Regions from separate parts of the Homo sapiens genome. Here all the other regions are linked to region 1. The links are contacts of gene promoters, found by promoter capture Hi-C in blood cells and fetal thymus (Javierre and others, 2016). All regions are on one chromosome and are shown on one strand. The core of a region is centred on a gene start or on the middle of the fragment in contact, and the rest is flanking DNA. Distances in the headings are between cores, read along the strand shown.

What was found. Contacts are between HindIII fragments. The CHiCAGO score rates a contact against its expected background, and 5 or more counts as called.
Region 2: a contact is called between a fragment that was not itself captured here and the fragment with the promoter of DNAAF11 in region 1, in 1 of 17 cell types (fetal thymus). The highest score is 5.4, in fetal thymus.
Region 3: a contact is called between a fragment that was not itself captured here and the fragment with the promoter of DNAAF11 in region 1, in 2 of 17 cell types (fetal thymus and activated CD4 T cells). The highest score is 5.3, in fetal thymus.

What each region holds. Positions count from the first base shown.
Region 1 is chr8:132,674,123-132,676,889 of GRCh38, forward strand. DNAAF11 (dynein axonemal assembly factor 11) reads right to left here and starts at 1,423. Exons shown (of 12, transcript NM_012472.6): 1 at 1,362-1,423. The coding sequence starts at 1,371. LOC105375767 (a long non-coding RNA gene) reads left to right here and starts at 1,508. Exons shown (of 2, transcript XR_928665.4): 1 at 1,508-1,683; 2 at 1,770-1,936. The HindIII fragment of the contact is 7,589 bases long and covers 1-1,889 here.
Region 2 is chr8:133,475,891-133,478,657 of GRCh38, forward strand. ST3GAL1 (ST3 beta-galactoside alpha-2,3-sialyltransferase 1) reads right to left here. Exons shown (of 10, transcript NM_173344.3): 4 at 388-710; 5 at 1-184. The coding sequence starts at 134. Among named protein-coding and RNA genes, the nearest start is that of ST3GAL1-DT, 93 kb to the right of the region's middle. The HindIII fragment of the contact is 1,982 bases long and covers 454-2,435 here.
Region 3 is chr8:133,457,514-133,460,280 of GRCh38, forward strand. ST3GAL1 (ST3 beta-galactoside alpha-2,3-sialyltransferase 1) reads right to left here. Exons shown (of 10, transcript NM_173344.3): 10 at 1-2,424. The coding sequence ends at 2,251. Among named protein-coding and RNA genes, the nearest start is that of ST3GAL1-DT, 110 kb to the right of the region's middle. The HindIII fragment of the contact is 1,203 bases long and covers 730-1,932 here.

The DNA of each region.
Region 1 (2,767 bases), core at 173-2,672:
GGAGGAGGAGGAGAAGGAGGAGGAAGAGGAGGAGGAGAAGGAGAAGGAGGAGGAGGAGAAGGAGGAGGAGGAGAAGGAGGAGGAGAAGGAGGAGGAGGAGAAGGAGAAGAAGAAAAAAACCAACTAGGGTGAGACCAGGGGATGGGGAGACAGCCCTGAGAAGAGAGGAAGAAATATCAGTAGCTGATTTAGGAAAGGAGTTTCAACATTTACAAATCACTCCCCCCCGACCCCCACCTCTCCCACTTGCAGGCTGTCAGGTCTTCCAGGGCAGAAAGCCCATCATCTGGAGCAGTCTCTTGATTTAAAAAAAGTTAATTATGACATTTTTACAATGATAAGTGATCAATTAGGTAGAGCTGTACAAAACTGCCATATGGGGAGCTCAAAAACGTTGTCGATATCAAAATGGTTCATACAATATAAATAACTTACCCGCATCACCTTGCAGTTTGTTAGTATATTCTTAAAGAAACACGTTTACTACCGGGCGCAGTGGCTCACGCCTGTAATCGCAGCACTTTGAGAGGCCGAGGCGGGCGGATCACCTGAGGTCAGGAGTTCGAGACCAGCCTGGCCAACATGGCAAAACCCCGTCTCTACTAAGAATACAAAAATTAGCCTGGCGTGGTGGTGCACGCTGTAATCCCAGCTACTCAGGTGGCTGAGGCAGGAGAATTGCTTGAACCCGGGAGGCGGAGGCTGCAGTGGGCCGAGATCGCGCCGCTGCACTCCAGCCTGGGCGACAGAGCAAAACTCTTGTCTCAAACAAACAAACAAAAACACGTTTATAACACTTACTGTGTCTAAAACAGTAGTATGATTGCCATTATTTTGGAGATGAAGAAGCTGAGGCCCAAGGGGTGAAGTCACTCGCTCAAAGTCACAGGAAGAGGGAGGACTTCAACCCTGGCTCCAGAGTCGGAACCCTCCACCATTAGGCTACACTGCCTTCCGGAATGAGTCCGAAGATTGCGGCTTGGAGACAGTGACTGGCCCACGTTCACAGCCAGTAAGGAGCCACTTGGCCGGAACGTGGTGTGTCTGGCGCCAAAACCCCTGCACGTTCCCCGACCCCTTTCCTGGAGTCCAGTGCCTTTCTGCCTCTTCCTCCCCTTCCCACGGCCCCGCCCATTTTACAGATTAGGAACCTGAGCTGGAAAAGGCCAGGCTGTCCGGCCAGTCTGCAGAGGACCTGGTGCAGCCGGGGCTGCGGTGCGGAGGGCCGGGTGGGGTTAGGGTCCGCCCAGGCGCGGGGGAACCGACAGCGCAGGGCGGGAGCGGGCGGCGAGGATCCCACGAGACCCGGGACTACTTCCACAAGGGGAACGATCGAGGACGGAAGGTGGAGGGGGGCTTACTCCAGCCCATGGCGCCTCTCCAGTTCGCTGACCCCGCAAGCCGGACCCGGACCTCGAATGACGCTTTTCACCCTTCACCCCTGCTCCTCAGCGCGTCCCCGTCGGAATTCAGGAGCCATGGCAACGGGGACTCTACGGCGGCCGCGCGGGACCAAAACAAGCCGCGTTTCCTGAGCTCCGCGGAGCAAGCAGAGGAGACCGCAGTGAAGGGGCTCAGCAGACAGGGGTTCCCCAACCCAAACCCAGTCTTCGTCCTCGTCGCACTTCCGACTTGCCACAGACTGCTTCCCTCTCCCTGAATCAATGGTTTAGAGTGAACAAAGTATGAGGACGCTTCTCTTTTCTGTGCCTTCCAGGCTTGCCTTCCAGACCGCCTTTGACTTTTTCCTTTTTGTGTTTGATTTACAGCTTCCAGAGCCAACAGATCTGGATTTGGCCCCCAACTCTACCAGCGGCGTGACCTTACACTTCCTTCTCCTCAGTTTGCACATCTGTAAGATGAGAAATAACCTAAGAGGATCACTGTGAAGCTTTAATTAGATAATTTGAGTGAATGAAAGACACTATGAAAACAACAGGCTCACTATAAAGATTCGTTGTCGTTGTCATATTCCAGCTTTTTAAAGTCACTCTCCAACACTCGTTTCCGGCTAACAAGCTTTCCAGAAACGCCACCCATTACCCCCTCCATCAATTTCCCTATTCTCCACTCTCTTAATTGTAAAATGTAGGAAGTATATCTCCTACAGCCCCACACTCCCCTCACGTTTCCCCAGACCCTTCTCCAAAAGTGTGCAACGCGCCTTCTCCCATTCTAAACTAGGAAGCACATCAGCAAGCTCATTCACCCTCAGATCTTAGTGTTAGCACTTTAATGCGTTAGCTTCCCAAGAATCTTTAAAAGGTACCATTATTATGAAAGTAATTATTATTCTTTACTCCATTTGCAGAAAAAGGAGGGGGGCAATATGTAAAAGGTAAAACCTTCTCCCATCCCAGTCGTTTTAAACAGTATGGAGTGCGTGCTTCTTATCTTGATGTGTGTATTATGTTTGCATTTTAAAAGAAGATTCCTAGAGCAATGCTGAGTGCAAAGAAATTAATTTTTCTAGCGAATAGCTGTTAAGCATTTACAGCTGGCAATTATTAGAGTTTGCCAGGTAGAGACAAGGTCATGAACTTGGACAGAGAGGCAGGAAAGTCTAACAGAGTGAGGTGATGGGGGGAAGCAGAAACATCAGTTTGGCAATAAAGAGAGCTAGATAGAAGGGATCTTCGAACAGTAAGAATGAGAGATTAGATCGGGGGTAATGGGGGCCTTAAATGCCAGGCCAAAGGAACTGAACTGGAAGAGTGGGATTTCAGGCACTATTTCCCTGAATATTTGGATTTCCAAGGAGGCCTCC
Region 2 (2,767 bases), core at 195-2,694, 800 kb after region 1:
TCCAGGACCATCTGCTTGGGGAACCAGGTGGTGGCCACCATGGTGTGGGAGTAGTTCAGGAAGAAGGAGGTGAGGAAGATGAAGAGCACGAGGAAGGTGAGCACTTTCAGGGTCCTCTTCCGCAGGGTCACCATCTTCGCAGTCCTGATGGTGGCCTCCCACGATGGGTAGCAGGAACTCCCTCCTAAGAGAGGAGAAAAATGGAAGAAAAATCCCAGAGGTGGAGGCTCAATCAAAAGGGATGGCAGGAATTCCAAGGGAGGACACAAGGGCCGCTAAGCTCGACTTCACTCCTGCTGGGGGATGACCCCCAACTGTGTCCCAGACACGGCTGTGTGGTAGACCAACGCCATTCGTGGCATGTTGGCTTTGCTTGCATATATTTACCTTTTCAGAAAATAAAGTAGCCTATTCTTCTGCAATCCTTAAAGAGCTGATAATGTCTCTCGATCAAGCTTTAACCAGTGATTTCCTTTCACATCCAAAGAAGATAAGGGGTCATTAATCTCTGTGACAGTCCAGGGTCCCTCAGGAGCGAGGACCTCGAAGGAAGGGTGTTGGTATAGCGGGGAGGGAAACTGTCTCTGCCGTCCTCCTCCAACTGTGGTTTCTGACGATCCTTAATTAGGGCTTTTTCTTTCCCATCCTGTCGCCAGGGACATGGTGGGTACACAACCAGCTTGATGAAGGCACAGAAGGTTGTCTGTCATCTGCAAAGAAAAGGAGGAAGAAAACAGCGTGAGATTCTGTGATCCTGCTATAAAAAATGTTTCTCTCCACATCTCCACCAGGACGTATTCCGTGGTCTTCCTTCTGGTGTCATGCCAACCTGGCAGGTGGCTCTGGATGGTTTATCTACCTTTGTGAGCCTGAGTGCGTGCATACAATGGATGTTATCATCTCTTTGCAAGGTTATTATGGGATGCAGAAGGTGTCCCCTCCATGTTTCCAACAAGAACCTAGCACATTGACACACTCAACAAACATTTGTCAAAGAGCTCGTGATGCATGTAGGTACAATATACACAGGAATTGTTAAATGCATGTTATTTGCCTTTCTCTCTACTTCATTCTCTTCCAGATTTTGGATTTCAGCAACAAGCACAACAACAATGGTATGCTTAGAGAGTGGCCCAGGGTTCCTTTTACCTGGGCATTCAAGCTCTGCCAATTGGCCTCAGTTCCATAAAAAGGGGCTTTAGATGGTCCAGGTTCAAGTTCTGATTTCCCAGCTGTGGAGCCTTGGGAAAGTTATTTGACCTTCCTGACCCTCAGTTTCTTCTTCTGCAAAGTGGGATACTAACACCCCTACTTATAGAATGGTTATGAAGATAAGATAAAATGATGTATGCTGGGCTTCTGGTATCTATTAGGCCATTGCTGAACTTTAATTTTTCTTCTTCAACATGTGAATGAATCAATATTCTCTGATGATCCACTAAGAGCTGAGAGGATGAGATATTCATGCATACGTATCTCTTCAGATAATCCTCAGAATATACTGTCAGCTAGATATTAGTTTCCCTTTTTGTCTTGGAAGAAACTGAGACTCAAAGTGCTTAGATGACTTGCCTAAGGAAAGGAAGGAGCAGGATCCGAGTCCAAATCCACAGTCCTCTGATTCCTTACATCGGGAGGGGTTGGGGGACCAGGAACAGGGGGTTGGGGGGCTCTACCCTGGAGCAGACACCTGTCTTGTTAACTGGTCTTCAGATTACTACGGCTGGAGGGATATAGAGCAAGGGGGGAGTATTCTTTTGAAGAAGGCAAACAGGTACCTCTCAAATGCCCATCGGAGACCCCTCTGGCTCTCACCGACACCTTGGGATTTCTGTATGGTACAACTGTGGTTGCACGTCTGCCCTGGAGCGTGGTCTTTTTGGTCTTTGCTTGGAATGCTGAAGAATGGAAGAAATCTGATCGATTCCTCCCCATTCTCAAGGTGTAGATTGTCAATAAGCAGGGTATATTTTTTTCCAGGAAAATTAGAGTTGAAAGGAGATTGATCACCTTTTGGTAGAAAGGGGGACAGCTCCAAAACCATATTAAATCCACAGTGCCCTTCTGAAGACATCCAGGGCCCAAGATGCATAGGGTGCAACCCTCTACAGCTTCCAGAACTAGAAGCCCAACGTATGGAGGACAAGGTCTGAGCTCTGCAGCTCAGTTGGCAACGTCATTTTTATCCGGTCTCTGCTCCAGTTTTCACTTTTCATGACAACCTAGATTTTGTTTATAACCTAGTGGTGTCCACAGGTATCCCATCCAATTCTCTCCCCACCTGCCCCCATCAAGGAGCAGCTCTGTAATTTAAGTAAGAATAACTTCTGCATCATCACAGATAGGCTCACAATTCACTTGACTGGCAGAGGGTTCCCACCTCTTACCCCAGTAATTGATCCAGGGATGGGCATGTGCCTTAATTCATCCAGCCAAGCTTCTGTAGGGAGGGAAGAAACTTTCTTTTGCTCTGGCTGGCTTGTTGTTGACATGTGGAACATCCTGCTGGCTATTTTGCTAGCGTGTGTAGAAGAGACTAGAGCTGAACAACCCGAACAAATGGTGCTAAATCCCTGATCCTGCTCAACCTGCAGCCCCACCCTCACCTTGACTTTTCAGTTACATGAGGGAATAAATCCCCTTTATGGGGTAAAGTAGGTTATTTGTAACTTGAAGCAATGTGACTGACCCAGAGGTCACAGTTGCTCCTACCTCCGTGTCCCTGCTCAGGCTGTCCCCACTGTCCAGAAAACCACCCCACCCTGCT
Region 3 (2,767 bases), core at 81-2,580, 780 kb after region 1:
TGCCCTTCGAGGCTGTATGTTCTGAATGATGACTCAGTGATTTACCAGCCTTTCTCAGAAAAAAGAAAAGTCTTTAAAGTTTTGGAGGATTTTAAAGCTGAAACAGGTTTTCGGTTTGTTTAACACATTCCCCATTCTGAACCTTTGAGAATCTAATAAAAGCTATGGTCCTTTCTCCAGAAAAATGCTCATATGCAGAGATTCAGGGAAAAAACCAAACTTGGCACGCAACTTCCGGGGACTCTTGTGAATGGCCTGAAGCCACCTGTGACCCATGACTGATGTCCCCAAGTTCCTCCCTCCCCGTGTGCAGAGGGGGCTCCCCCGAGCCTGGGAGCACAGGCCCCATGCCTCCGTCACACTCCACCAGGAAAAAGTCACGCCTCCTCAAAGCAGCAGCGACCTTTTCAGGGATATTTTCAACAAGAAAGTGGTTTTTCTGCTTAAACATTAGTAACTGGAGCCAACAATCACCGTCCCCCACATTCCTGTCACTCTCCACTCCACACCCAGCAGCAATAAGGTTTCACGGAGTTTTGGAGACTCCTAGCCTGAGAATAAATCCAAGTCCACAATGAGGAAGAAGGAAGGTTGGGTTGGGACGGGAGGATGCTGAGGACATTCCACAAACCATCCAAGCCCTAGATACCCCCAATATCCCACGTCCGAGGACTCCTACAAACCTCCCTTAAGCACCCCCACCTAATTTCCCAGCTACTGGGTGAGGCAAGCTTCATTAAAACACCAGGACCACCAACAGAGCCAGGGTGCAAACAATGTCAGTTGAATAAAAAAAAGAAATCAATAAATAATCAGGAAGGCTAATGAGGAAAAGAGAGTAGCTGGGGAGTAAGAAGATGAGGTATGTGGCAGTTACCATTCCTGGGATGTCCTTGACCCAGACCCCCAGTGACAGCCCCAAGATGGCCAGCAGGGACTTGACCCTGAGCTCAGGCCCTTGGGGAAAATGCTGCTGGCAGCCTCCTGTGTGGCTTTGGAGGTTACGGGCACCATATTGAACAGTCTGAGAATGAGAATGTACGTTCCATTCTGACGCACTGCTGGGTGGTGTTGAGTATCCTCAGAGCTTCGTTGCAATTCAGGTGCTGGCTCAGGAAACCAGAAAAGATGTTCCCAGCTACGGAGCAAGCAGGGCCGCTGGTGGGGGTCCCTTTTCCCAAGTAAGGGCTTTTGTTTCATTTCAGCCAATGCATGCTTTTCTTTCCCAAATACAAAGGCACATGGAAGTGGTCAGATCCGCTCTCGCCACGATTAGAACCATGAGACTGACTACTCAAAGGAACAACTGCTTGGGAAGAGGCATCTGCAGGAGTCAGAAACACGGTGCCAAGTTTGGGGTTTTTTTTCTTTTCTTTTTTTTTTTTTTTCAGAGACAGGGTCTCACTCTGTTGCCCAGGCTGGAGTGCAGTGGTGTGATCACAGCCCACTGCAGCCTCGAACTCCTAGGCACAAGAGATCCTCCCTCCTCAGCCTCCCTAGTAGCTGGGGCTACAAGTGTGTGCCACCGTGCCTGGCTAATTTTTTTAAATCTTTTATTTTTGTAGAGACAGGAGTCTCACTATGTTGCCCAGGCTGGTCTTGAACTCCTGGGCTCAAGTGATCCTCCCGCCTCGGCCTCCCAAAGTGTTCAGATTACAGGTGTGAGCCACGGCACCTGGCCTCAAGTTTCTGTGAAAATCTTTGGGGTAGGAGCCTCTGGTGGCTCATAAATGAGCTTTGGGAAGATGACAGGGTTATCACGCCAAGCAAGAGGCCAGGCTTCGTGCAAAGAAGGGCAGCATCTCGCCCCGAGCGCCAACACCGCCTGGCACGTCTCTGTGCTGGAGGTAATCGCCACTCAAGTCTCTGCCCATCTTCCTGGGAAACTGTCCTGTCTCTCAGAATATAGGCATCTTCCACATTCATTCCCCAAGCTTGCCCCAGGAGCCAAAATGATTTTAGTGTGTGGAGGTTGAACCTTTCCCAGCGTCTCCCCAGCTCTAGGGCAGCAGTGGGGGGACGTTGTCCCCACTCAAGACAGGTTCCAAGACATGCTCTGCCACGCTGGCAGAGCTTAGTGACCTTGCTGAGTAGATGCTGCCAACGGCTGGGTGCAAGAGGCTGTGAGCGGTGCCCAGGCACACACCTGAGGCTGCCCCTCCAAGCTCCGGGATGGAACGGCTCCAGCAAGATGCTGGGGCTGGAAATGCAGAGGTGTGACAGTGCGTCCATCCTCAGCCCTTCACTGCGTCATCTCCCCTTGAAGATCCGGATTTTATTGATGGAGGCCAAGGTGGCCGTCACGTTAGACTCAAAGTCTGCATCGTGCACCCCCGTCTTGCGAAAAGCCCCCGCGGATGGGTTGTTCTCCCAGTAGTGGTGCCAGTTCCCTTTGCTGTCTGCCCCGAAGCCGTACAAGTCCACCTGTGGGAGCAAAGCAAAGATGAGAACCAGACAGCAGGGCTGCTGGTGGCACCTCTGAGAAAGGAAGCCTGTAGGCGTTCCTGGAATCCCACAGGACCATAAACAGCATTTCCAAGGACTCTGACTAACCCTTCATTAAAAACCCTTCTCTACGTTCCTGGAACTCTCAGAGTCTTGGTGAAGCAAATGCAAGTTAAGTAAAACTCAAGTCTAATTCCAGAAGCACCCTGAGAGATTACTGCATCTGGGTGGTCTCAGGGGCCCGGGTCTTACCTCTGCAGCAAGTGCAACCTATTCTCCCAGGATTGAGGAGCTACAGAGGGAAGGAATAGGAAGGAGGGCG